2 separate regions of the Homo sapiens genome follow, and region 2 is linked to region 1. The links are contacts of gene promoters, found by promoter capture Hi-C in human tissues and cell types (Jung and others, 2019). All regions are on one chromosome and are shown on one strand. The core of a region is centred on a gene start or on the middle of the fragment in contact, and the rest is flanking DNA. Distances in the headings are between cores, read along the strand shown.

Region 1 (5,991 bases), core at 3,492-5,991:
CTGAGACAGGAGAATGGCGTGAACCCGGGAGGCGGAGCTTGCAGTGAGCCGAGATCGCGCCACTGCACTCCAGCCTGGGCCACAGAGTGAAACTCAGTCTCAAAAAAACAAACAAACAAACAAACAAAACAACAAAAAAACACTGTCTGGCTCTTTGAATAAGATCAGCCCCAAGCATTTGGAGATAAAAATGTGTGCTGTCGGACACCGCTGTTACAATAGTGTAGAGGGATGGCATTAGGCAAACCCCGGGCAGGAACTCTGAAAAATGAAGCAAGACTGACCTATTAAAGCAATTGGATTGTGGTTGTTTTTTCTTTCTGCTAAACTTTGCTTGATTGTTGTTCTAAGTGTTTGCAAAATAAACCTCAGGGATAGAAGCGCTTAGGTGGAGAGCTGACACAATGCCCACATCTCAGGCTTGCCCACGTATTGGTATCACTGCTGTAATAATTACTACAACGTTATTGCCTTAACACATTTCCAGTTCTGTAGGTTAGAAGTTCAACTGAGGTCTTGCTGAGCTAAAGTCAAGGTGCAGGCAGGGCTGTGTCATATCTGGGGGCAACTGTAGGAGAATCTGTTTCCTTGCCTCTTCCAGCTTCCGGAAGCTGCCTGTATGCCTTGTCTTGTGGCCCCTTCCTCCCTCTTCAGTGCCAGCAACATTGCATTTACCTGACCATTCTTGTGTTGTCACATCTCTTTTTGACCACAGCCAGGAAATGTTCCCCGATTTTAAGAATTTATGTGATGAGATTGGGCCCACTTGGATAACCCAGGATAGTCTCCCTATCTCAGTGTCTGTACTCTTAGGCCCCATGTGGCAGCTCATGCCTGTAATCCCGGCACTTTGGGAGCCCGAGGTGGGCAGATCACTTGAGGTCGGGAGTTCGAGACCAGCCTGGCCAACATGGTGAAACCCTGTCTCTACCAAAAAATACAAAAAATAGCCGGGTGTGGTGGCACACACCCTTAGTCCCAGCTACTCAGGAGGTTGAGGTGGGAGGATGGATTGAGCTGGGGAGGTGGAGGTTGCAGTGAGCTAAGATCGTGCCACTGCACTCCAGCCTGGGCAACTGAGTGAGACCCTGTCTCGAAAACAAACAAACAAAAAATCACGTCAGCAAAGTCCATTTTGCCAGGTAAGGCAACATATTCACAGGAATTAGCACAGGAATTAGGGTGTGGGCATTTTGGGGCCATTATTCTGCCTATATACTTTCAATTCTATTTTATATTCTGAATATTTGTATACAGAAAAGTGCATAAATAATTACAAAATGCCAGCTTTATATATATATTACATACATATATTACATATATAACATATATATTATATATATTACATATATATATGTTATATATACATATATATATATTTTTTTTTTGAGACCAGGTCTCACTCTGTTGCCTAGGCTGGAGTGCAGCAGTGTGATCGCGGCTCACTGCAGCCTTGACTTCCCCGCCTCAAGCAATCCTCCCACCTCAGCCTCCTGAGTAGCTGTGACCACAGACGTGTGTCATCACACCTGGCTAATTTTTTTTTTTTTGTAAAGATGAGGTCTTGCTATGTTGGCCAGGCTGGTCTCAAACTCCTGGGCCTAAGCCAGCCTCCTGCCTGCCTTGGCCTCCCAAAGTGCTGTGGTTACAGGTTTGAACCACAGCACACAGCCTTTTGATTTTCTAACTTTTTTTTTTTTTTGAGATGGAGTCTCGCTCTGTTGCCCAGGTTGGAGTGTAGTGGCACAATCTCGGCTCACTGCAACCTCTGCCTCCCAGGTTCGAGCGATTCTCCTGCGTCAGCCTCCAGAATAGCTGGGACTACAGGTGTGTGCCATTACGCCCAGCTAATTTTTGTATTTTTAGTAGAGATGGGGTTTCGCCAGGTTGGCCAGGCTGGTCTCGAACTCCCGACCTCAGGTGATCTGCCCGCCTTGGCCCCCCAAAGTGCTGGGATTACAGGCGTGAGCCACCATGCCCAGCTGTGCAGCCTTTTAATTTTCATAAACTGACCACACCCGTGTAACCAGCCCCCAGATCAAGAAACAGAACATGCTCTGTAGCCCCAGAAGTCCTGCTCCTGCCCTCTTCCCATGCACAGTGTGATTTAGCATTTGTTGACATTAGAAAATTCTGTGTATATGTGAGGTCAGGAGTTCGAGACCAGCCTGACCAACATGGAGAAACCCCATCTCCATGAAATTAGCCGGGCGTGGTGGCACATGCCTGTAATCCCAGCTACTTGGGAGGCTGAGGCAAGAGAATTGCTTGAACCTGGGAGGTGGAGGTTGCGGTGAGGCGAGATCGCGACATTGTACTCCAGCCTGGGCAACAAGAGCAAAACTCCGCCTCAAAAAAAAAAAAAAAAAAAAAGAAAGAAAGAAAATTCTGTGTATAGGTAATACCTGGAGTATTATTGAAATACAAAGGAGAGAGCCCAAGCGATGTTTGTTTACTCATTCATTCAACAGATATTTTTCTGGCACCAGTCCTGGGCTGGGTGCCACGGGAAGTGGGATGAATTGGTTCAATGCTGGTCATATGACACAGAATACACGGAGGCAACTGTGTGCAGGAGGGTGGGGTGGGGAAAGGGGGTTTGTGAAGCAAATAAGAACACAATGCATTGGCCAAGCGTAACCAGGCAATGTGGGTCCCAAAGGCAACTACAGTTGCGGAGCAGAAAGGATTTCAGGCCAAGGGAACACTGTGGGCAAACGCATGGCAGTGGGAACAGGCAGGGGGTGCTGTGGGGTTTGGGGAGGCAAAGAGGGATGTGACTATTGGACTTGACAGCCTTGGAGCACTCGCTCATGCTGTCTGATCCACCATCCCCAGTTCTCACGTCCACCAGCCCAAACCCCAGCTCTCCAGACGCAGAACCAGAGGCCTCAGCCCTCATGCCAGTGTCCTCACTTTACAGACAGGGATGCAGGCCCACTGGAGAAGAGAAATACACGTGAGGCTGGTCGCGCACTTCCTTCATTCCCTCACTGCTCACCTTTCTACAGAGCCCTCCTGGGCCTGGCACTGGGGACACAGAGGGGTCAGATGTGGCTCTGCTCTGAAGAGTTCAGGGGCCAGTGGCACAAAACTGGGGCAGAGGCCTGAAGCAGGATCCAGATCCCATCTCCCTTCTGGGGCTCTGCCCAACCCCACGGCTCCTTCCTGCTGTGCCTCCCAGGAAGACCCCTGCGTCCCCATCAGACCTCTCCATCATTCTTCGTTTATGCAGCCTACATTTTTTTTTCTTTTCTTTTCTTTTTTTTTGGGGGGGGACAGGGTCTTGCTCTGTCTCCCAGCTTGGAGTGCAGTGGCGGGATCTCGGCTCACTGCAGCCTCCGCCTCCCAGGTTCAAGCAATTCTCCTGCCTCAGCCTCCAGAGTAGCTGGGATTACAAATGTGTGCTACCATGCCCGGCTAATTTTTGTATTTTTAGTAGAGATGGGGTTTCACCATTTTAGCCAGGCTGTTCTGGAACTCCTAACCTCAGGCAATCCACCTACCTCGGCCTCCCAAAGTGTTGGGATTACAGGCATGAGCCACTGTGCCCAGCCTGCAGCCCATATCTATTTATTGGGCATCTAATGTGTGCCAGGCAATGTTCTGGGTACTGAGACAACAGCTGTGTAGTAGACAGGCCCCTCCCTCGGTAGAGAAGAGAACAAGTGAACCCATAGGTATCCAATGTGTCGGGAGGAGGTAAGTGTCACCCTGTGAAGGAGAAACAGACTAAGGGAAGAGAGAGGGAGGGAAGGCGGTCAGGGGAGTTTCTTTGAGGATGTGACACTCGGGACACAAAGGAAGCAAGTTACACAGGAATGGGGAGAAGAGGACTCCAGACAGGGGAAAGGGGGACCTTGATGGGTCTGGGGTCCACACACAGGCTGTGAATGCAGGGAGTGATGTAGATTTAGCTTTGGAGAGACCTGGAAATCAATGCTGGTCTCTCCATCTCCCCCTGTTCTTGGAAATGGACCACCAGGCGTGAGGTTTGGGGAGGCCACTGGCTGCTTCTCCGGTGTCTTCCTGTATCAGCCACAACTAGCACACGGAGGGATGCTGGCCAGACCTGGCTTCATCAGGATGACACGCCCAGCTAACCTCATACCTCCCCCTTCATCAACACTCCCCCATGTTGGGGAGGCAAGGCAGGGAAAGGTCCCCCATGGTGCAGCTGAGGAAATGGAGGCGCAACACTCTGCACTGTGCCAGGTGCAGAGGAGGGGGGCCGGAAGGGCTTTGCCACGGTGTCCCCCAGGAGACCACCTTCTGGGAGCAGGTGACCTCTTGAGGGGTTCTGCGGAGGAAGTTCCCAGAAGTCAGCCGAGGGGACTTGGTGGAGGTGGCAACGCACAGGGCGGGTGACAAAGTACACATCCCGTGGGGTAGCAGCGGGGGAGGGGAGAGGTGCCCTGAAGGGGCGGCGGGAGGGGCTCAGAGGCGTGATCCCGTTGGTGGGGCGTTTAGGACCTTGGGTGGAGGCGGGACCCCGCGAGCGGTTTGAGGGAGGCTGTCCTGGGCATCCGAAGATTGGCGGAGACTGGCCGTTTGGAAGTGGGCGGGGCAAGGGAGGTCAGGGGGCGGGGCCAGGGAGCCGGGGTGGGTCCGGGCCGTTCAGAGGCGGGGCGGGAGGGGACAGGGGCGGGGCCGGGGCGGGGAAGGGGCGGGGCCGGACCGGGGCCGGGCCGGGCCGGGGCGGGGCGAGCGGAGCCGGGGGCGCGCGGGCGGCGGCGGCGCGGAGGTGCGCTCGCCGGTGCTGTGTTTGGCGGGTGGTGGCGGCGGCGGCGGCGACGGCGACGCGCACAGAGGCGGACTGTGGCTTCCTTGGTGCTCGCGGCGGGCTGCGGGCCGGGCCGCCCGCCCTCCCCGCCGCCGCCGCCCCCGAGCCTGCGGGCGGCGCCGAGGCCGAGGAGCGCTCGCTGCAGCACATGCTGCGTGCCATAGCGGAGGAGCGCGGCCGTCTTAGCCTGCGCCGCGAGGTCTGCGGCCTCGGTGAGTGGGACCCGGGGGCGAGGCCGGGCCGGGAGAGGTGAGCGTCTCCGGGGCCGCCTCTGCGCGTCCGTGTTTCTGTGCGCCCCGCGCATCTCTGTCTCTGCGCGGGTGTCGTGGTCTCTGGGTCTGCCTGGGTACCCTGTCTTCCTCCATGGCCCCCCCCCCACCGTCCCTGCATCTGGGTCTGTCTCTGCTTTCCGTCCGACGAGCGCCCCGCACCCCTGTGCCCGGGTCTCATTCGGCGTCTCCCCCTGTCAGTCCGTCCGGGTGTCTGTCTCATCTTCCTCCTTCTTCTTCGTGTCTCTGCGGGTCTTCTTCCTTCTCCAGGAAGCCCGCCCCGGGCCCTCAGCACCGCGGTAGGGAGTGTGGGCGTGGGATCTGGGTACACCCTTAGCCCAGCGCGGCAGGGTCGGGCCCTCGTTGGGCTCTGGGTGGACCTCGCTGCGAGCGTGCCCTGGCCACTGTCTCCTGCTACCCGAAGCCTTTGTCTTTCCGCACCCACCGGCCCCTCTCATCCCTTAGCTGTATCCAGGGACCTGTTGGGCAATGGCCCCCCGAACCCGCCCGCTTGGCTGAGGGGCAGGGCCTGCTGCCTCTCGGTGTGATTCTGGGCTTTAAGTCATGGATCTGCTGGGGGGCGTGGGATGGGGGTGCCTCGTATTGTTTGGAAGGGCCTGGGACTGCAGGTGTGGGTGGGGTCTCCCAGCCAGTGAGGTAATCCATTACTGATGGATCATGCCCAGACTGAAGCCCAGGAGAAGCCCCCTCTTTTGTCGTCTCAGGTTCGTCATTTTCTCCATGGAAAAGACCCCTCCCTCCTCCGTGCAGGGAATGACTTCATACCACATTGTCAGCCACCCCCCACCCCACCCCCAGGCTAGGCTGGGGATTTCTGAGGGGGTGACAGCATTGCTGAGTACGGAATGTCAGCCTTCCAGATTCACCCCTTCATTCACCGTTGGGGAAACTGAGTCCCAGAGAACAAGTGCATCCCCC
Region 2 (6,044 bases), core at 1,718-4,217, 520 kb before region 1:
AAATGCCATCTGAATGAAATTGAGTCTTTTTACCTAAGCACATGGTACGAATAGGGACAATTTTCAGGTAGGCTGCTTCCATCTCAGTAGGGTCTTCATGAGAACAACCAATATTTTGAACAGCAAGAGTAAGATTTGCAATTTTCAGGAAGTACTTTATATTTGAGGAGTGATTTATGACATGGAGGGGCTTTTAAAATATTTGCACTAAAGATATGAGCACCCAATAAGGGGGAACTTAGGTAATGCCAAGGTGCAGGTGGAGGAGGGGAGCAAATCCACCACAATCAACCCCTCAGTCCCAGCTGATTCTAGAGCAACTTCTTGCAATTAGGAATTAGGGAGAGAGAGAGGAATAATTCACCAGAGCACAAGTTTATCTTCCAAGATTTGGGCAGCATTTTAATGCCTCTAAACTAATTTCTAATGACTGGCAAAGTTTCGCTTTACTACAAACCCTGCCAAGTCTCCCTAGTACTGTCTCCCTCTTGGTGGCTTTCAGACTTGTCTTGCTCCTCACAGCCTCTCTGTATCTTCCTATGATGATGTGCTGCAACCTCCTGATCTTTATCATCCCCACACTAAGTCAAATCTTTCCTCCTGCCATTGCCTTGGGGAAGAAGTGGCTTCTAGGACTGGCCCCGCGATGAGAGGGCAATCTCCTTGGCTCCCGGTAGTGTTTCCACAGGGGCATACTTCACGCTGCTTTCCAACCAGTATGTTTCTTCAAACGTGCTTCACCAGAAATCCTGAAAGGGATTTTTACCATTTATAAAATGGAAAGTTTATCATATAATCCTTTAAACTGTAAAATATAAGATTACTGGTGACAATGACTGTTGGGAATTAACTGATTGAAAAATGAAGAGCATATACTGAAGATGTGAAAAGGTTCAGAATAAAAACCTCACAACAATTTAAAACAGACAAATGTCCCCACAGTCACAAGGACACTAGCAGACAGCACTGACATCCTAGCTGTCTGATGCTGAGAATTCAACAGAATGTGTGTGGAGCAGAAGCGCCTGTGAATTTCCAATAACTCCGCAGCTTACTAAATATACACGTGGTTTACGAATGTTGTTATTTGTTCCATCCAGAGAGTCTCATTTTACACCGTTCTGAATAAATTCTTTGGGTGTTCAAATTTTGCTTTGCTCCACTTCACCAAAGCATGCAAGGGTTTGATACCAAAAAAGAGAAAACTCTATCTTAGCTTCAATCTACCCACAAAGGATGATGGGGTAAAAAGTCAACGAAACTACCACTGGTAAAAGACAAAGGCTCATGAAGAGCGAGTTGGATTCTGAAGTCTGAAAGGATGAGGCCAAACAAACCCGGATTAGCCAGACGCAAGGGAGATGTCTTTTGAGAGTTGAGACTCAAACTCATGGGGAAGGGAGGGGAGTTGTAAACATTTTATAGAACAGAAGCCTTGCTAAGGGAAACCCTTCCACGGAAACTTACCAGGAGCCCTGGTAATGCTGAGCAGGAAGGCAGTGTGACAGGAGGGAATCTGAGAGGTCTGGGCCTGGGGCAACAAGGCTTGCCTGAGTGGGAGTGGGGGTGGGGGCTGGGGGGTAGCGGTGGATCTAACCCTGCAGAGAGGGAACTCCCCTGCGATGGGGGAGGGAGAAGATGATTCCTGCAGAGAATGTGGACTTAGCAAGCAAGCGTATGAAGTCAGGGTCAGATGCTGCAGTATTGAAGATGAGTGTGCACCGTGAGGAAGGATTTCAAGCACACGCTGCAGGATCAGGGAGAAGCAGAGAGGCTGCCGGAGAGGCCGGGGAGAAACTGGCTGGCCGAATTCTGGAATGGAACTCACAAGTCAGGTATTATAATTTTCTCCAATAACACGTAGCAGCCTTAGATAAGAAGGGGGCCTGGAAGACACTGGGGGAGGTGGGGGTAAGAGCCTAACACAGCCGGCACCTCAAGACAGCCCATGCTCACCAGCTCACTCAGTGAGCCCACTCCACCACCATGCTATGCTGTTCCCAGCACCAGAATGGTGAAGAGACAAATGGTCCCTGCCTATCCTCCTTGTACTTACATTCTAGGGTTGCGAAGAGCAGAGCAGACAAAACCAACCACAAATGTGCCTGTAAATGCATGCATATGAAGACAGTCTGACCTGTGGCAGTGAAGGAACAGAGAAAAAGGCAAGAGCCCAACCTGGGGAAAAGGAAGGGCCCAAAGAGCAGGGACAGAGAGGTGGGGGGCGTGGTGGGGTCCGACTTTTAACAGGTAGGGGGCAGGAAAGACCTGTGAGGAGATGAGCAAACACCTGAGGGTGCAGCAGCCACACACTCTGCAGACCTGGGGCTGGGGAGAGGAGCGCAAGCACAGAGGCTCAGGCAAGGAGCCGCCTGTCTCCTGGCAAAGCGAGCGAGGGGCCAAGTCCAAAGGCCTCAGCTTGAACTCAAAGGCCTTTCGTAACCTTGACGAAACCTTCACTCCCACTCAGCCTCATCTCTGAGGAGCCCTCCAAGTCTCTCCAGCCAGTTCCCTCGTTCCTTCCTTCTCTGCCTTGAACACGCCAGGCCCACCTCACCACCTCACTCTCTCCAGCTCTCCAGATTCTCCCACCACCTCCCTGCCCCCAGAACACTGCCCGGCAGCCCTCCCCAACTGAGAGTCACCAGGGTGAGGGAGAGGGGGTAGGAAGGCCACAGAAACATCATTTCCTAGGCCTCCTTCCAGATGAAAATGCTGTAGCCACAGCCTCCTACTCCAGGAAAAGGGACCACGCAGTTCTTTGCGCAGGAGAGGCCATGGCTTTACAAAGCGCTTCTTAAATGCTTCTGTGCATTCCAATCCCCTGAGGATGGTCTGATTCCGGATGCTGGGGTAGAGCCTGAGACTCTGCATCTCAGACAAGCCCCTAGGTGATGCCTCTGCAGTCCACAGTCTGGGCTGTGAGGGACTACAACAGGGATGGAGACAGACCCAAGGGAAGCCACGCAATTACTCTCACTTGGAATTTGGAGCCAAAACACAGGGGGAAGGCATCTGTCAGTGGGGGCTCCACAGCAGGGAGGGGAGGATGTGGAGAGATGGCTGGGGCCATGTGAGGTCACCAGCCTGGAGACAGGAGTAAGAGTGAGGTGGCCTCTGGGGGACCAGGAGGCAGTCCCTGAGGCCTGGAAGCCCCTTGGTTCATGCTCTGGGAGTCTGTGCTCTCCCTGTGGCCTAAACACATACACTCTTGCCCAGCTTCCCTTCAGCCAGCTGGAGAGCGAGGAGGAAGCACCCTGGCCAGACAGGAGCATGCCTGGGAGCCTCCCAGGAAGACACAACAGGTGTGCAGACACAGGTTCGGCTAGGGTGGAGCCCACCAACACTCAGCCAGAACATGCACCGTGGAAAGAATCCTGCTGCTGTGGTCTGCTTCTGACTGAAATCAACTGCTTTATCTGCTATCTATCATAACAAAGATAAATAAAAAATGAGATGTAGTCATGAAGCGGGAGTGCCTACCCTGGGTCAGGCCCTCTGTCAAGCAATGCAAAGACAGAGAAAAATAAGCCGAGGTCCCTGCGCCTCCAGAAAGAAACGCACGCTGGTCAGGGGAAACAGACAAAGGGCAAATAAATAGAAACACAGTCTCGGAAACGCACAGGGGACAGAGACTGACTTCCTTTCTACCTGTAATGTCAAGCTTTTCACTTTTTCTGCAATTGTTACAAGTAAAATACTATCTTTTATGAGTAACTTTTGTTGGTTGGCTCACTTAAACCATAAAGTGAAGTAAAAACATATGACTAAATAGGAAGTTTTTAAAAATCAGAAAACCTGGGAGTCAGAAGGCTCTTAAAGGCGAATATGGTCCATTCACCTGCTTCAGTTAAGACCACAACTACTTCATCCCAGTCAGATGTGTTTTTTTTAAAAGCCAGATTATACTTTAATCTATTTAAGTATAGTTTCAGCCCAACTGCACTGAAATCAACCTTTTCTGTTTTAGCCAACATTTTAAAAAATCTAACACAATGGTCTAATTTTTTAAAATTTTAATTAAAGGCCCATTTAGAAAAGTAACCAACTTTTGATATTCCCTGAGGTGGAACTTAAAACAGATTTTAATGTAACTGCTAACAAGGACTAAGCAAAAACTGGGAAGAAGTGTATGATAAAAAAATAGATAAATAAAGAGCAAAGGCTTGCATAAAATGTTCCAGTCACTGGATTATAATGCTTCGTTACATTTGATTTTTACCTTTTCGAGATTATACCTATGATACTGTATTACAATTTAACCAGTTATCACCTAGTCTTCCATAAAGGTTGGTGAGAAATGAAAATTAAGTAAACACAGTATTACATAAGTGCTTAGAAAAGTTTAACTGTGAAAACAATGAACAGATTTAAAAATATTCATTTGTTCATCCCTAAAAGTTTACAGAGCACTCACTGTGGGCCCGGAACTGTGCCAGGGGCCCTGGAGAGAATGAGGAGCAAACAGACATGGAGCTTACATGCTAGGCTTGTAGTGTTTTAGATGGTAATACAGTCTCTGCTCAAAATCACCAATATAAAAACATTAAAGTCCCAGCTACTTGGGAGGCTGAGGCTGGGGAATCGCCTGAACCTGGGAGGTGGAGGTTGCAGTGAGCCGAAATCACGCCACTGCATTCCAACCTGGCGACAGAGCAAGACTCCGTCTCAAAAAAATAAAATAAAATAAAATACTGAGGTCACCCTTGAAAACATAAGCCAACAATGAAAATTCAACTTCTTTCCCAAAAGGAAAACAACAATAATGAAACAGAATAAGCTACCTGAAAGAAAGCTTCCTCTTTCATTACTCTTTATCAAATTACTGTCTCTCACATATGTCCTTTTATTTCCAGGCTTATCACCACCCTCCAACCAGGCCTCCACTGCTGTAGCAACCTTTTAACTGGCTCAGGAATCCACTCCGCACACTGGGGCTCTTATCAGTGAGGATGGGCTGGTTCGTGCTGCAGTAACAAACAATCCACAAAAATCTAAGAGGCTTAAAATGAAAGTTTCTTTCTTTCTCATGCCACTTAACAGCTGTGTGGCCTTGGGTACACTACTGAACCATTCTGGCCCTCAGTCTCCTCATCTGCAACATGGGAGAGGTATCATCATTAAATGAGGTAAGAGACGAATACTCAGAACTGTGCCTAGGACACAGGACACACTCAATAAGCAACTACTATTGCTGTAATCGTTGTTATTCTTGACACCACAAATCTTGATCAGAAGCCTTCCTAGCTTCTGATCAAGGCTTCTGATCAAGATTTGGGGTATCAGAAATAATGGGATATGACTACACCCTATCATCTAGCCATCTGTCTCCCACAGTAGATCATGAGCTACTTGAGAACAAGGACTGCCTCTGACTCCACTGTTGAACTGCAGAGGTTCACAGAAAGTGGCACATGGTAAGCACTCAGAAAGTGCTTGCTGCACTAAAGGGAACGATGTTGAATAATAATCACTGGTACGTGAATAAACCCCACATGTGCTGGACATACACAGAGTCCCATATTAATGAGGGCACACTCTCAGATGCATCTGGCCCGCAGGAAACCTGACTAAAAGCACATGATGAAGATAGGGAATGTCATCTGTAGGTGGGAAAGATGGCTTTACAGGCCCAGAACCAAGCCACAGTTGAGCTAGGCCACCAGTACATGGGCTACTGCTCCCAGGGAAGTCTAAGCAAACGAAGGAGGATGTTCCACGTTGTGGAATTAGCACAAATCTATCTCCACGTGGGGAAAGAATGTAATTCAAGATTCCCCCTGTTCCTCCTTCCTTTCTTAGGGCCATCATTCCCCTGCCCCATGCTCTCCTGGCACACTGGCACACAACAGCCAGCATGGAAAAAACTTTCTGAGGGGATAGAGGTGCTCTCTGTACCTTGACTGGGGTGATAATTACACAGGTGCAGACATCTGTCAAAACTTATCAGCCATTCATTAAAAATCTGTGTTTAGCTGTATGTAAATTAGAAAGAGAGAGAAGCAAGCGATGGACAGTGCTGACTGTTATATGGTCCCTTAGCT

The links. The method cuts DNA at HindIII sites, captures the fragments that hold promoters and counts their contacts. A contact is called where the count stands out against the background at its distance.
Region 2: a fragment that was not itself captured here is called in contact with the fragment with the promoter of KIAA0930 in region 1 in 1 of the 25 tissues and cell types used here (dorsolateral prefrontal cortex).

The regions. Positions count from the first base shown.
Region 1 is chr22:45,239,644-45,245,634 of GRCh38, reverse strand. KIAA0930 reads left to right here and starts at 4,741. Exons shown (of 10, transcript NM_001009880.2): 1 at 4,741-4,995. The coding sequence starts at 4,932. RefSeq lists silencers at 4,418-4,617, 4,648-4,707, 4,868-4,927, 5,078-5,167. The HindIII fragment of the contact is 11,413 bases long and covers 1-5,991 here.
Region 2 is chr22:45,759,766-45,765,809 of GRCh38, reverse strand. All of the region lies in intron 9 of ATXN10 (ataxin 10), which reads right to left. MIR4762 (microRNA 4762) reads right to left here and starts at 5,286; the gene lies at 5,212-5,286. RefSeq lists a silencer at 2,707-3,001 and an enhancer at 2,566-3,159. The HindIII fragment of the contact is 7,619 bases long and covers 1-6,044 here.